Linked DNA regions of Homo sapiens: region 2 is linked to region 1. The links are contacts of gene promoters, found by promoter capture Hi-C in human tissues and cell types (Jung and others, 2019). All regions are on one chromosome and are shown on one strand. The core of a region is centred on a gene start or on the middle of the fragment in contact, and the rest is flanking DNA. Distances in the headings are between cores, read along the strand shown.

Region 1 (6,552 bases), core at 1,094-3,593:
ACACCTTCCTCTGTGTAAGTCTCCTCACCTTGAGGGGTCTTTAGTAATGCATCTGGGTAGCATCTCAACTGCTGGTAGCATTTATCTGACTTGGAAAGTTGGAGAAGAGGCATTCCTACTGGAGAAAAATGTCAGTGTTTTCCTATAAGCTCTGTGTTAGCTATTCATTATATTTGTGCTTAAAGATGTTCCTTCATTCATCAACTAGGGGAAGTCCAGATGCGGGTTATCTTGAAAGAAACAAACTGACATTCTAGGCAGACAGTTGTCTATGTGGTCTGAGGGTCAGCAGCTGTTAGTCTCCTTCCTTTGGCTCTTGAGACCCACACATATCACTTTAGCCCTAACAAGGGCTCCTCCCACCTCCACCTGTTGCCCCAGTTGAAAAGCATCCATTATGAGCTGAGGTCAGCCTGGATCTGGAATTGCAGCCCACATAAACATAAAGGAGGATGTCCCTGGTCTGTTCCATCCCCACGGATGGTGTTGCTGCTGGGCAACAGTGTTGGCTTCTTTTAAGTACCCCCTTTCCTCCTCACCCACCTCCAAACTGACTAGCACTCAGAGGGACTTATGATAAAGGTTCAGCTCCAGGGGTAGTACCTGAGTGTGTGCCATGCCCCTTCAGACCAGCTGCTTCCATCAGAATTCCAGGGTCACAGCCCCAACAGAAGCAGCAGTGCCTCTGTAGGAGGGGTGCTGGGCTCTGGCCTTCTCATGCAGAGAGGTCCGGGACAGGGTCAGTATCGTGGGCATGTGTATAGCTTCCCAAGTTCTTTTACAGTCCCTGCTGGGACTCCCTGACTTACTTTGGTTGGTTCCTAGTGCTACTTGTTTTACAAACTACACTTTGTAGAATTGATTAGATTACCTTGTTTATTTAATGTGAGTTTGTGCCTTTTTGTCTCAATCTTCCAATACAGGTATATTGAGAAAAAAAGCAGTCTAATAAAATCCTAGACAGAACTTTCTGGAGTCCAGTTTGGTGATGTCCATTTTCCAGCTGTATGTATCCTCAAACTTGCACTGATAACCGCCATTTTACCAGGGCAGGATTAGGAAGAGGTACAAAGGTGTGTCTGAAAATTTTTGCACGTGGATTTCTGCATATAATAGTCCCGTGTCAGTTTACTTATGCAAACATTGCACATCTGAATTGTAATTCGGCCGTTTCCTACTGACAGGATGTCCTTTTGCTTTTGTCTGCCTCCTCTTCACATCTTCCTCTTTATCCACCCTACCAAACAAGCAAAACATTTATTTAAAGTAGTTTTAGGCCGGGCGCGGTGGCTCACACCTGAAATCGCAGCACTCTGGGAGGCCGAGGCGGGTGGATCAGCTGAGGTCAGGAGTTCGAGACCAGCCTGACCAACATGGCGAAACCCCATCTCGGCTAATTATTATTATTATTTTTTTTTTTTGAAACGAAGTCTCGCTCTGTCGCGCAGGCTGGGGTGCAGTGGCGCAATCTCGGCTCACTGCAACCTCCACCTCCCGGGTTCAGGCGATTCTCCTGCCTCAGCCTCCCGAGTAGCTGGGATTAACAGGCGCGCGCTATCAAGCCCAGCTAGCTTTTGTGTTTTTAGCAGAGACGGGGTTTCACCATGTTAAGGCCAGGCTGGTCTTAAACTCCTGACCTCAAGTGAGCCGCCCGCCTCGGCCTCCCAAAGTGCTGGGATTACAGGCATTGAGCCACCGCGCCCCGGCCTACGTTTCATTTATTGACGGCTAATTCTGTAGGAGTCCAGGAATCCCCAAACGTCCCATATGCAATAGGTAATCCAATAAGTTTGGAGTAGAAGCCTGAAAGTGGGCGTGGAGAACGGAGGCGCTCCCGCAGTAGCAGGAATGGGGAGATTACCTGCAGCCGGGGGGCGGGGGAGACCGGATCCCAGGCAGGACAGTGGCTAGGCTGCGTGTCCCCACCCCCGACCCTCGTTTGACCCCTGGGAGCCGGGGCGAAGACAGCACAAGGACGGAGCCCTCGGATCCCTCACGAGTGGGGCAGAGGCTGCGGCGGCGGCGAAGAGACAACTTCCGCCGGAAGACGGCCCCTGGCGCGGGGCACGCTGGGAGCTGCGGACGGCGGGCGCGGGCTGGGCCGGGTCTAGTGGCGGCCGCACACCTCGCGTCGTCTGGGGCAGTGTTGCGCGTGCGCTGATGACAGGCCCGACACGCCCCTCTTACGTCCGCGAACCCGTCTTCGCTCAGCCTCTCGCAGCTTTGCGCTCGTGGGAGAGTCCCGCCTCCTTCTGCGAACCGCACCACCCAGATCCCGGGGTGCGCGGAGGGCGCGTCTCTGACGGAAGCCGGGGCGGACGGTCGGAGTCCGGAAGAAAAACAGTCCGCGACAGCTAGGCGCGTGAGACCGGCCGCCCGCAGGGCTGCTCTGGCCGGGACCCGCTGGCCGGGAGACGCGAACCTGCCGGACCACCGCGCGGGGACGACGGCGGCCATGAGCTCGCGGAAGCTGAGCGGGCCGAAAGGCAGGAGGCTCAGGTGAGGGCACCCTGGCGGCAGAGGCAGGCCTGCTCGGGGGGATCGGCGCCCCTTGGGCTGCGGGCTGGGGGTGGACAAGGCACCAGACCTCCATGACTGCCTTTGGTTCAGAGGCGCTCTCGCCTTCTCCCACGCCTGTGTCAGGTGGGCTGTGTTGGGCCCGAGCCTCGCGCCCCCTCTAAGCCGAGGCCGCCAAGCTCGTTCCCACTGGGGCGCAGCAGGTGTCCCGGTTGCTTTCTGGAGAGGACAGCCGTGTGGGGTTGTTTGAGGTTAAAGACATAACGAGGCCGTCACCCTTCGGCTCTCGGTTAGAAATCTTTTTCCTACTTTTCATCAGCACATACATCAGGAGGTCTGCCTGATCCCATGGTGAACCCCGGGAATCCGAAATCAGATTGAGATAAGATCCTTTAGGGAAGTGACTTAGCCTGGTCTCTTGCCTGCTCTTTCACGGGGAACAACGCTAATCGCCCACTTAGTCTAAGTCACGATGCTTGGATTTGCTGCTAATCGTCGGATTTGAGAGTGGGAACAAGAAATCCGGACTTTTGCTCTCCATCCTCTTAGAGTGAGTCTGGGAAAAGAAGTCTCTGAGTAAAAGGTCTTTGTTCCTTAAGCCTCTGTCGGACAGCAGGGGGAGATCGTAAACAAATGAAGCTCAAAATCTCAGGCCGAGTGCCTGGGAAGGTGGTTTCTGTATAGTGTTGTTTATGCTAACAGGGAGGGACAGGAAGTTGCTTTAAACTGGCCAAGAATTTCTTGAAGTGCTTTTGAGAACGTCGACCTCTAAGGACGGGGTCTGTTGGAGGAGAGATGTTTTGGCATTAACTGCCCTTTTCTCCCATCCCCCTGTACCCTCTGCCATTCCAGATCTCCAGCTGCTGCAGGTACTCCTCATCGTGTGCCTAGGACTCATGCTAGGCTGTTCCTGGTCTCTGCAGGGTCTGTAGCTCCTGCCCGCTCTGTGCTCCGCACAGTCTGAGGCTTCTTGAAGAGCTGCTGTGACTGACTGTTCCACTAAAGACATCTGTAGGTCTCTCTTTCCTGAGCCTCTGACTGGATCCAGTGTCATTGAGGCCCCTTATCTAGTTTTCTTGCTTCCCTAAGACTTGTAAGCTGAGGTGGAAAATATCCAACTGATGACTTTTCCCCAGAGAGTACTCTTTATTTTTCACGGAATACTACGCAGACATAGAGCATAGACTCTTAAGAGAGATGTCGAGAAACCTGTTACTTAAAAACTCCTTGGCCGGGCGCGGTGGCTCAGGCCTGTAATCCCAGCACTTTGGGAGGCTGAGGCGGGCGGATCACCTGAGAGATCAGGAGTTCAGGACCAGCCTGGCCAACATGGTGAAACCCCGTCTCTACTAAAAATACAAAAGTTAGCCAGATGTGGTGGCACACACCTGTAATCCCAGCTACTTGGGAGGTTGAGGCAGGAGAACTGCTGGAACCTGGGAGGCGGAGGCTGCGATGAGCCGAGATCATCCCAGTCCACTCCAGCCTGGGCAACAGAGTGAGACTCAGTCTCAAAAAAAAAAAAAAAAAAAGTCTCGCTGAAGTGCTTGGCAAAATTGGCTTGCTCCAGGGATCTGCTAGGGAGGAGAGAGGAAGGGAATATGGTGGTGTTATCTCTTTTATTTTTTAAATTCCTCTGCCCTTGTAGTGCTGAGGCCTATCACAAGGTGAAATCTGAATCCCTAGGATCTTCCTGGTGGTCTTAGGAACACTTGGGGTGAGAAGTAGGGATCAGAAGTTGCCGACTGAGCCATAGATGATGACAGAGGGGTGTGGGTGGCTGGAGGAGCTGATGGAATTAATACATTCCTGGCAGTTCAGCCCCCTAACCCTTCGCTAGCCTGACCTGAAATTCTTGGGCTCCCTTTGGCGACTCTGCTATATCAGCAGCACCAGTGCTGCCGGGTGTGGGTGGCTGTGAGCCAGCATGGAGGACCCAGTCCGGGGTGGGGATTTCTTGCTTCAGCAGAGAAAGGTGAGGACGGACAGCTGATGGTTCAGTATCCCCATTCCCTCCACCAGCACAGAAACCCACATTTCCCATCATGAGTGTGGCAGATTGCAGTGACATAAGCAGGCCTAGACCCCGTGCACTATCTTTTTTTTTTTTCTTTTGAGACAGAGTCTCACTCTGTCACCCAGGCTGGAGTGCAGTGGCACAATGTCGGCTCACTGCAACCTCTGCCTCGTGGGTTCAAGCAATTCTCCTGCCTCAGCCTCCAGAGTAGCTGGGATTACAGGCGCCTGCCACCATGCTGGGCTAATTTTTGTACTTTTAGTAGAGACGGGGTTTCACCATGTTGGCCAGGCTTGTCTCGAACTCCCGACCTCAGGTGATCCGCCCACCTCGGCCGCCCAAAGTGCTGTGATGACAACGTGTGAGCCTCTGCGCCCAGCCGACCCCGTGCACTATCTTATCCTCCTTCCTCCATGACTTCCCTCTGCATCCCTTCCGCAGCATACACGTCGTGACTTGGAACGTGGCTTCGGCAGCGCCCCCTCTAGATCTCAGTGACCTGCTTCAGCTGAACAACCGGAACCTCAATCTTGACATATATGTTATTGGGTAGGTATCTGCAGGCTCCTTCGCCCATCCCTGACCAGTCCCAGGTTTCCCTGTGGGAAGCACTGTGACCTGCCCTCCTCCGCTCTGGAGTCTGAAGGCTGGGAGCTTTCAGCCTGCTTCAGGGACAGTCCCATGTCTCTGGTCCCGGGTCAGCAACGGCAAAGGGGGCTGGAGATCAGCAGGCAGGGGAGGGAGACCTCATGGCCATCAGAACTCAGGCCTTGAAAGTCCGTGAAGATGGTATCAAATATCTGTGGCAGGGGAAGTAGCCTGGAGGCCAGGGGCCAAGCCTCTGAGCTGGCATGGTCAGTTTGCAGGAATTGAACTCTGGGATCATAAGCCTCCTTTCCGATGCTGCCTTTAATGACTCGTGGAGCAGTTTCCTCATGGATGTGCTTTCCCCTCTGAGCTTCATCAAGGTAACTTGCCAGTTCATTGGCACTTGACAACTGTGTTTTCACATCTCCACTGACCCCTGCTTGTTGGGTCTGATGTGTTCCTCTTACTCCTGCTCAGCCTTTCATGCTGTTTCCCATTTGTTTAAAGGGCTAAACCTCCCTTCCACCTGGACCCCGGGGCCCCTGCCTGCCTTCGCCTTTCTGAGGGAGCTGGAGTCTCCAGGGGTTGGGTTAACACCTGGATATGTTTCAGCTTGGGAAGATTCTGAGGGGAGGTGCAGCAGGGCTTGTCATCACCTCAGTGCTGGCCGCTGCCCCAGCCACCAGTCTCTACTCAAATGCCCATCCTGAAGTCTCTGAGTGTAATCATACGGCTGTCATTTATCAAGTGCTTACTTGTTGTTACACATCATAAGTAGCTCTTTATAGTATATATGTTATTTTAAAATCTTAACAAGTCTGTTGAAATAGAGATATTTTACAGAGAAAACCATGGCTCAGAAGCCACATGCGCTATCTGGGATTTGGATCCAGATCTCTCAAACTTCATAACCCAAGTTCTTAACTACTAATACCTTATTGCTATGCTGGTGAACTCTAAGACTGACAGATCTTAGGCGTGGCTAGCCTGCTGGTGTCATAGGGTATCCTCAGGTCATACGGGACGTGCACTTCAGATTCTGGGGGTCCAGAGGTTAGGAGAGGGGAGTCAGGTGTGGTGGGTACTTTGGGCGGCTTTCTTAGTCTGAGAGACCAGTATACTCTGGGGTGTCTTTAGACAGTAGGAGAGTCCACAGGAAGGCCCTGGGTTGCCAGATCTTCACCTTCACCTTGGTTCTGCCCTGCACACCTGAGGAATGAAACACACTCCCATTCACAGCACCTGGTATACAGCTGCTTAGAAATACCAGAATTCCCTCTTTCCCCTTCCTGGATGACTCTTGTTCTTCAGAATGGATTCTGTCAGCCTAGTTTGCCTGGGGGTACTGAGGCAAGAGCTGTGTGTCCTTTGGAGGGGGAGCAGAATGGGGAGGAAAGAATCTAAGGTTTAGAACTCCTGCTGAGGATAGA
Region 2 (6,447 bases), core at 1,866-4,365, 740 kb after region 1:
ACAGTCTGGATCTTCAGGATTTCCGATGACCAACTACAAGTCAGGGCTCCCGCTCCTGCTTCCTTGGGTTTGATAGTCTGCTACAGTGGCTCATGGAACTAAGGGAAACGCTGGAAACACTTACTTACATTTACTGGTTTATCATAAAGAGTACGAGTCAGAAATGGCTGGACAGAGGAGATACACAGGGCAGGGCATGGGGAGTGGGTGGCAGAGCTTCCATGCTCTTCTGGGCAGGCTCCAATCCAGCACCTCCCTACGTTCAGCATCCCAGAAGCTCATGAGTCTCATTGTTCAAGCCTAATAGAGCCCAGTCTCCATCCCTTTCCTTCCCAGAGGTTGGTGGATGGGACTGAAAGTTCAGTCCTCTAATCATTTGTCTTTCTGGTGACCAGCCCCATCCTGAGTCTATGTAGAGGCCCCACTCTAAGTCACTTCATTAGCATAAACTCAGGTGTGACTGAAAGGGGCTCATTATGAATATAACAAAAGATATTCCTATCAGGAAATTCCAGAGGTTTTGGGAGCTCTGAGACAGGAACCAGGGACAATGACCAGATATGTTTCATATTATGCCACAAATGCAAATAAGTACATGCTCTAGATGAAGCAGCGGCTTTCCAGTATCTTTTTTTTTTTGAGACAGAATCTCACTTTGTCACCCAGGTGGGAGTGCGGGGTCATTATCCTGGCTCACTGCAACCTCTGTCTTCTGAGTTCAAGCAATTCTCCTCCCTCAGCCTCCCTAGTACGTGGGACTATGGGCATGTGCCACCATGCCCAGCTAATTTTTGTATTTTTAGTAGAGACGGGGTTTCACCATGTTGGCCAGGCTGGTCTCGAACTCCTGACCTCAGGTGATCCTCCCGCCTCGGCCTCCCAAAGTGCTGGGATTACAGGCCTGAGCCACCACGCCCGTCCATCTCTTAAGCTTAGTACCGTGACAAGTTGGAACAGTCCAAGGCCTATTAGGAATTTCATGCTTGTTGATTGATAGTCAAGGAAATAACAGGTCAGTTGGAGAACTGTCTTTAGGATTCTGTTCCTTGCTTTACAGAAAAGGTGAACAAATCTTTCCTTCAGGTAGATGCTGGATAGTCTTTGGAGCTTGTAGTAGGGTCCCATGAGCACTGCCCACAGCTGCTTTCTGTACCATCTGAGGTCATCTCATCCTTAAGAGAACTTTTAGGACCAGACAGGAATGCTCATCTCTCTGTGCCCAGTAGTTCTCTGGGGGTGGCCTGAGGCTGACTTGTCTGTAGTCACTGAGTTCATTTACTTTTATTTTCTAGGCCTTATGATGGGAAATGGAGTAAAACAATGGTGGGATTTGGGCCTGAGGATGATCATTTTGTCGCAGAACTGACTTACAATTATGGCGTCGGAGACTACAAGCTTGGCAATGACTTTATGGTAAATACCGTTTTTTTCTAGCAGAGTTTTGGCTGGGGGTAGGTGGCTGGTTGTAAATTTGAGTAGAGTGCCAAGGGTGTGTGTGAGTGAAGAGATAACATTTGAGCAGAGACTCAAAAGAGGTCAGGGAGTTAGCCACGTGGATATCTGGGGGATGCGCGTTCCAGGCAGAGAATATTCTGGCAAGAGCCGTCAGGTAACATCTGGCGTGTTCGAGGAGGTGTAAGGAAGCCAGTGTGGCTGGAATAGAGAACGAGAGGGGAGCGTGGTAAGAGATGGGGTCGGCAGTGCCATGGGGTAAGACTGCAGGGGGCCTCCTAGGCCGTAAGTCACCGAGTGAAATGAGCCATTGGCGGACTTTGAGCAAAGGGAAAACAAGGCTGGCTGCAGTCTGGGGGTGGACTATAGGATGCGTTTTGGAAAGTTTACTTTGGCTGCAGAGTGGGTAATGGATTTACAAGACTGGAGGCAGAGAGGCCATTATAATAAACCGAGCCAGAAACAAGGCTGGTCTTCTCAAAGCACACGTGTACATTTCTAGGCACTTTGATTAAATGTAAGGAAACCTTGATAGTTTGCTTATTTTTGTTTTGTTTGTTAAAAAAGCAAGAACAGGTCACCTTAAATAGGTAGCTAGCTGGCAGACCCAGGTAACATCAAGATTTCTGTGGCTAGATCTTTAGAATTAGAAGACGTTATCTTTGGTGTTAAATGAATCAGACTTCACTGGCATTTCAATTTCTGTCCTATTATTCACAAAGGTCTGAATGTTTGTGGGATAAAACATTGAAAACCTGTTTTTAAATCACTAGAAGAAAATGTTGGATGCCAGTTAAATCTTAGGTGATTTTACCTAAAGGCAGTAGGCAATAGGGGTTGGGCTCATTGTCTTGTTCTGTAAAATATCTGTTGTGATCATGTACTTGGATGTACTGTTGTTTGTTGTAGGGAATCACGCTCGCTTCTAGCCAGGCTGTCAGCAACGCCAGGAAGCTGGAGTGGCCACTGACGGAAGTTGCAGAAGGTGTTTTTGAAACCGAGGCCCCGGGAGGATATAAGTTCTATTTGCAGAATCGCAGTCTGCCTCAGTCAGGTAATTATACCAGAACCAGTAAAAGCCTCTGTCTAAAGGCATCTTTGGTGAAAGGAGAGTGAGGGCTGCCTGTCTTTTTTTTGTAGAGTCTGTGTTCACGTGACGTGTCTTCCCCAGCCAGTGCTTTTACCTGTTATCGGAGAGACTACATTCTCATATCAGAACTTAAATACATAGCAGTAGGGGATCTAGACTAGTTCTGTTCTACTGGTAATGTAGTGATTTATGATTCTTTCATCTGTAAATAACAGAAAACCCAACTACTTTGAACAGTTATAGAATCTTTTAGCTCACAGAGCAGGCATTCTATAGGTGGGAAAGATTTCAAGGTTAGATGATTCACCAGCTCCCCACATTTTCTCTTTCTACGTTCTGTTGTTCTCTGCGGGTACCTCTCCTAGAACTAGTCCCCTCAAGGTTGCAGGAGAGCTGCCAGGAGCAGGTGGGGCCACATGCTCCCACAATCCCATCTGGTAGGAGAGGAGATGCTGACTTCTTTTTGCTTTTTTTTTTTGAGACTCTGTCAGTCCGGCTGGAGTGTACTGGCATGATCTCTGCTCACTGCAACCTCTGCCTCCCGGGTTCAAGCAATTCTCCTTCCTCAGCCTCCCAAGTAGCTGGGATTATAGGCGCCTGCCACCACGCTCAGCTTTTTTTTTTTTTTTTTTAGTATTTTTATTAACTTTTAAAAATTATTTGTTTTTTGAGACGGAGTCTTGCTCTGTCGCCCAGGCTAGAGTGCAGTGCTGCAATCTCGGCTCACTTGCAACCTCCGCCTCCCAGGTTCAAGTGATTCTCCTGCCTCAGCCTCTCCAGTAGCTGAGATTACAGGCACATGCCACCACGCCCAGCTCATTTTTGTATTTTTAGTAGAGACAGGGTTTCACTATATTGTCCAGGCTGGTCTTGAACTTCTGACCTCACTTGATCCGCCTGCCTCAGCCTCCCAAAGTGCTGGGGTGACAGGCGTGAACCACCGTGCCCGGCCCTTTTTGCTTTCTTTTTAGGAGCAGAAGAAAAACTTTCCTAGAATCTTCCAGCAAACTTCCTGTTCAGATTTGATATACTGTGCCTGCTCCTAAACCAATCACTGGCAAGAGAAATAGGATCACCCCCAAACCATTTAGCCATGCCTCCTCTGGAGCCGAGGTCAGTTTCCCAGACTTGAGCGTGGGTACTCAGGGATGGCATGGAAGTGAGGAGCCCCCACGCTGACTGCCACACAGAACAAGAAGGAAACTTTGCAGGGTTTGTTTTGTTGACTGCAGAGGCAGCCTCATCAGTGTTTCATTTTGTATTTAATGCCTGCAAATTCAGCTACCTGCTCTGACAAAACAAAAGCAAAAACGGGGAAAATGCTGGCGAATGGCAAGGGCACTTGTGCCGACTCCCTTACTTGGTGAACGTATGCCTGCAAGTGGGCCTGAGAAGGGAGTCCTGGAAATTCTCCTTCTTCACTGGTCGGCCTCCTGTCCCCGATGCCCCCATGCTGAGTCTGTAGAATGTTCAGTGCTCCTTGTTTATCATCCGGTGCTCAGCAAAAGAAAGATCCGTCTGTTCCAGTGTGGGAGGCTAGACTTGGCTGTGTGGGACTCGTGGAGAGATGGTGTTTCTCTGCCTCACTGGTGATTTAAAGGGTGTTGATGGTGTTTTTTTGTTGATAGGTGATTGATCCTTTGCTGACTTTAAAACTTAACGCTTGCAGCTAGCTCCACCATCCATTTTTTCTCTCCAGCCTTAGTGATATTTCAGTGCTTAAAATAATAGAGAGCCCCATGGTGCTAAGAAGCTTTTGTTCTTTGGAATGGAAATCCCCTTGGGCATTTCTGGTTGACAATGTGGTCAGACCTTCTGTCCGGCTGGCATTCATCTTTCCTTTGAATTACCCACTTCTGTGCAGCTTCACCCACGCGTTAACTTCCTGTCCTGCGTCCCTTCAGGCTCCAAGTCAACTGGGATTTGTTGATTTTGAAGTAAATGGAAAGAAAAAAATGGAGCCTGCCAGGCGGAGGCACTTGTGAGAAACAGCGTCTTAATCCCAATATTGCTGTTCTAGCAAACAGGACTAAGGCAGTAAAGCCAAAGAAAAATGTACTGAATTTATCGTAGTCAGATGGAGACGTGGAACAGCTCTTTAGAAAGTCACTTTACAATGTGAAAAGTTTCCAGTAACAGTAGGTGTTTCAATATGACTTTTATTCTTTTTACAAAATAATCAAGTTTTTTCCTTAGACAAGCAGAGAAGCTGAAAAAAAACACACACACCCATGTACCCAGAGAGAACCACTGCTGACATTTTAGAGTATATCTTTCCAATCTTTTGTCAAAAATACGTATATATAATTAAGTGTATACATTTCTGTATATCCTTTTTTAGGAGTTCCATCGTATTATTACATTGTAGGAAGAGAAACAATTCTCTATTGTTGGATATTTATGTCGTTCCTAGTGTTTTATTGTTCTAAGCAACACTGGTGAATGTCTTTGTCGTAAAAGCCCTTCATACATCCACAATTACCTTTGGAGTGGCTGAAAATGGACTTGTTCTTTCAAAAGCAATGAGCACTTTTTAAAGCTTTTGGTACATTCCATCAAACTATTGCCCAGAAATGTACTGATTTACACTTGTATTACATGATTGTGATTTTCCCCTCTACACTAACACAGTTAACACTGCCAACTTTTAACATTATTTGCACATTAGTTAACAAAGGATTTTATGTGAATTCTAATTTCTTTGTTGTTTGGGGGCGTCGGGTTGAAATTTTTTTTTTTTTTTTGAGACAGAGTCTCGCTCTGTCGCCCAGGCTAGAGTGCAGTGGCGCGCTCTGGGCTCACTGCAAGCTCCGCCTCCCGGGTTCACGCCATTCTCCTGCCTCAGCCTCCTGAGTAGCTGGGACCACAGGCGCCCGCCAGCACGCCCGGCTAATTTTTTGTATTTTTAGTAGAGACGGGGTTTCACCGTGTTAGCCAGGATGGTCTCTATCTCCTGACCTCATGATCCTGCCACCTCAGCCTCCCAAAGTGCTGGGATTACAGGCGTGAGCCACCGCGCCCGGCCTGAATATTTTTTCGTATGTTATTTGACCATTCTAATTCCTTGTTTTGTGGATTATTGCTTTGTGCCTTTTGCCTATTTTTCTAGCATGTTCATTCTTTTCCTATTGATATTTACAGGTGATTTACATATTAAGGACTTTTTGTCCAATATATTGCAGTTGTTCCCCCTACTGTGTTGTATACTCTAGTTTTGATTGTAATTCCTTTTCTTGGTTGTTGTCTAGGAGTTTTCCATTTTGTGTAATTTATGTAGCAGAAGTTTTTTCTTCATAGTTTTTCTATCTTTGGTGTCAGGTTTAAAGAAAAATCTTCCTCTACTCCAAAATTGTATAAATAATCATCTGTATCTAGTATTTTCATGGTTTCATTCTCTAAACTTATTTTTTTAACCCATCAGGAATGTATTTTGTCATTTATTTCGAAGATGTAAGTTTTTCTTACCAAATGATTAGCCAGTCTTCTTAGCGCCGTCCATTGAATAATGAGGCTTTTCATACTGTCTTTGTTTTTTTTTTTTTTTTTTTTTTCGAGATAGGGTCTCACTGTCACCCAGGCTGGAGTGCAGTAGTGCAGTCTTGGCTCACTGCAGCCTCAACCTCCCGGGCTCAAGCGATCCTCCTGCTTCCATCTCTGAAGTGGCTGGGAATACACACATGAGCCACCACGCCTGTCTAATCTTTTTTTTTTTTTTTTTTTTTTTTGAGACAGAGTTTTGCTCTTGTCTCCCAGGCTAGAGTGCAACGGCGCCATCTCGGCTCACTGCAACCTCCGCCTCCCAGGTTCAAGCAATTCTCCTGTCTCAGCCTCCCGAGTAGCTGGGATTACAGGCGTGCGCCACCACGCCCAGCTAATTTTTTTTATTTTTTATTTTTAGTAGAGAC

What was found. The method cuts DNA at HindIII sites, captures the fragments that hold promoters and counts their contacts. A contact is called where the count stands out against the background at its distance.
Region 2: a fragment that was not itself captured here is called in contact with the fragment with the promoter of INPP5K in region 1 in 1 of the 25 tissues and cell types used here (dorsolateral prefrontal cortex).

The regions. Positions count from the first base shown.
Region 1 is chr17:1,512,403-1,518,954 of GRCh38, reverse strand. It overlaps INPP5K (inositol polyphosphate-5-phosphatase K), which reads left to right and starts at 2,343. Exons shown (of 12, transcript NM_016532.4): 1 at 2,343-2,499; 2 at 4,976-5,083; 3 at 5,394-5,502. The coding sequence starts at 2,456. PITPNA (phosphatidylinositol transfer protein alpha) reads left to right here. Exons shown (of 12, transcript NM_006224.4): 12 at 1-1,237. PITPNA-AS1 (PITPNA antisense RNA 1) reads right to left here and starts at 2,036. Exons shown (of 2, transcript NR_028514.1): 1 at 1,862-2,036; 2 at 859-1,237. RefSeq lists a silencer at 1,958-2,257. The HindIII fragment of the contact is 13,245 bases long and covers 1-6,552 here.
Region 2 is chr17:771,834-778,280 of GRCh38, reverse strand. It overlaps GLOD4 (glyoxalase domain containing 4), which reads left to right. Exons shown (of 9, transcript NM_016080.4): 3 at 1,293-1,413; 4 at 2,362-2,506. Among named protein-coding and RNA genes, the nearest start is that of GLOD4, 7.2 kb to the left of the region's middle. The HindIII fragment of the contact is 5,864 bases long and covers 184-6,047 here.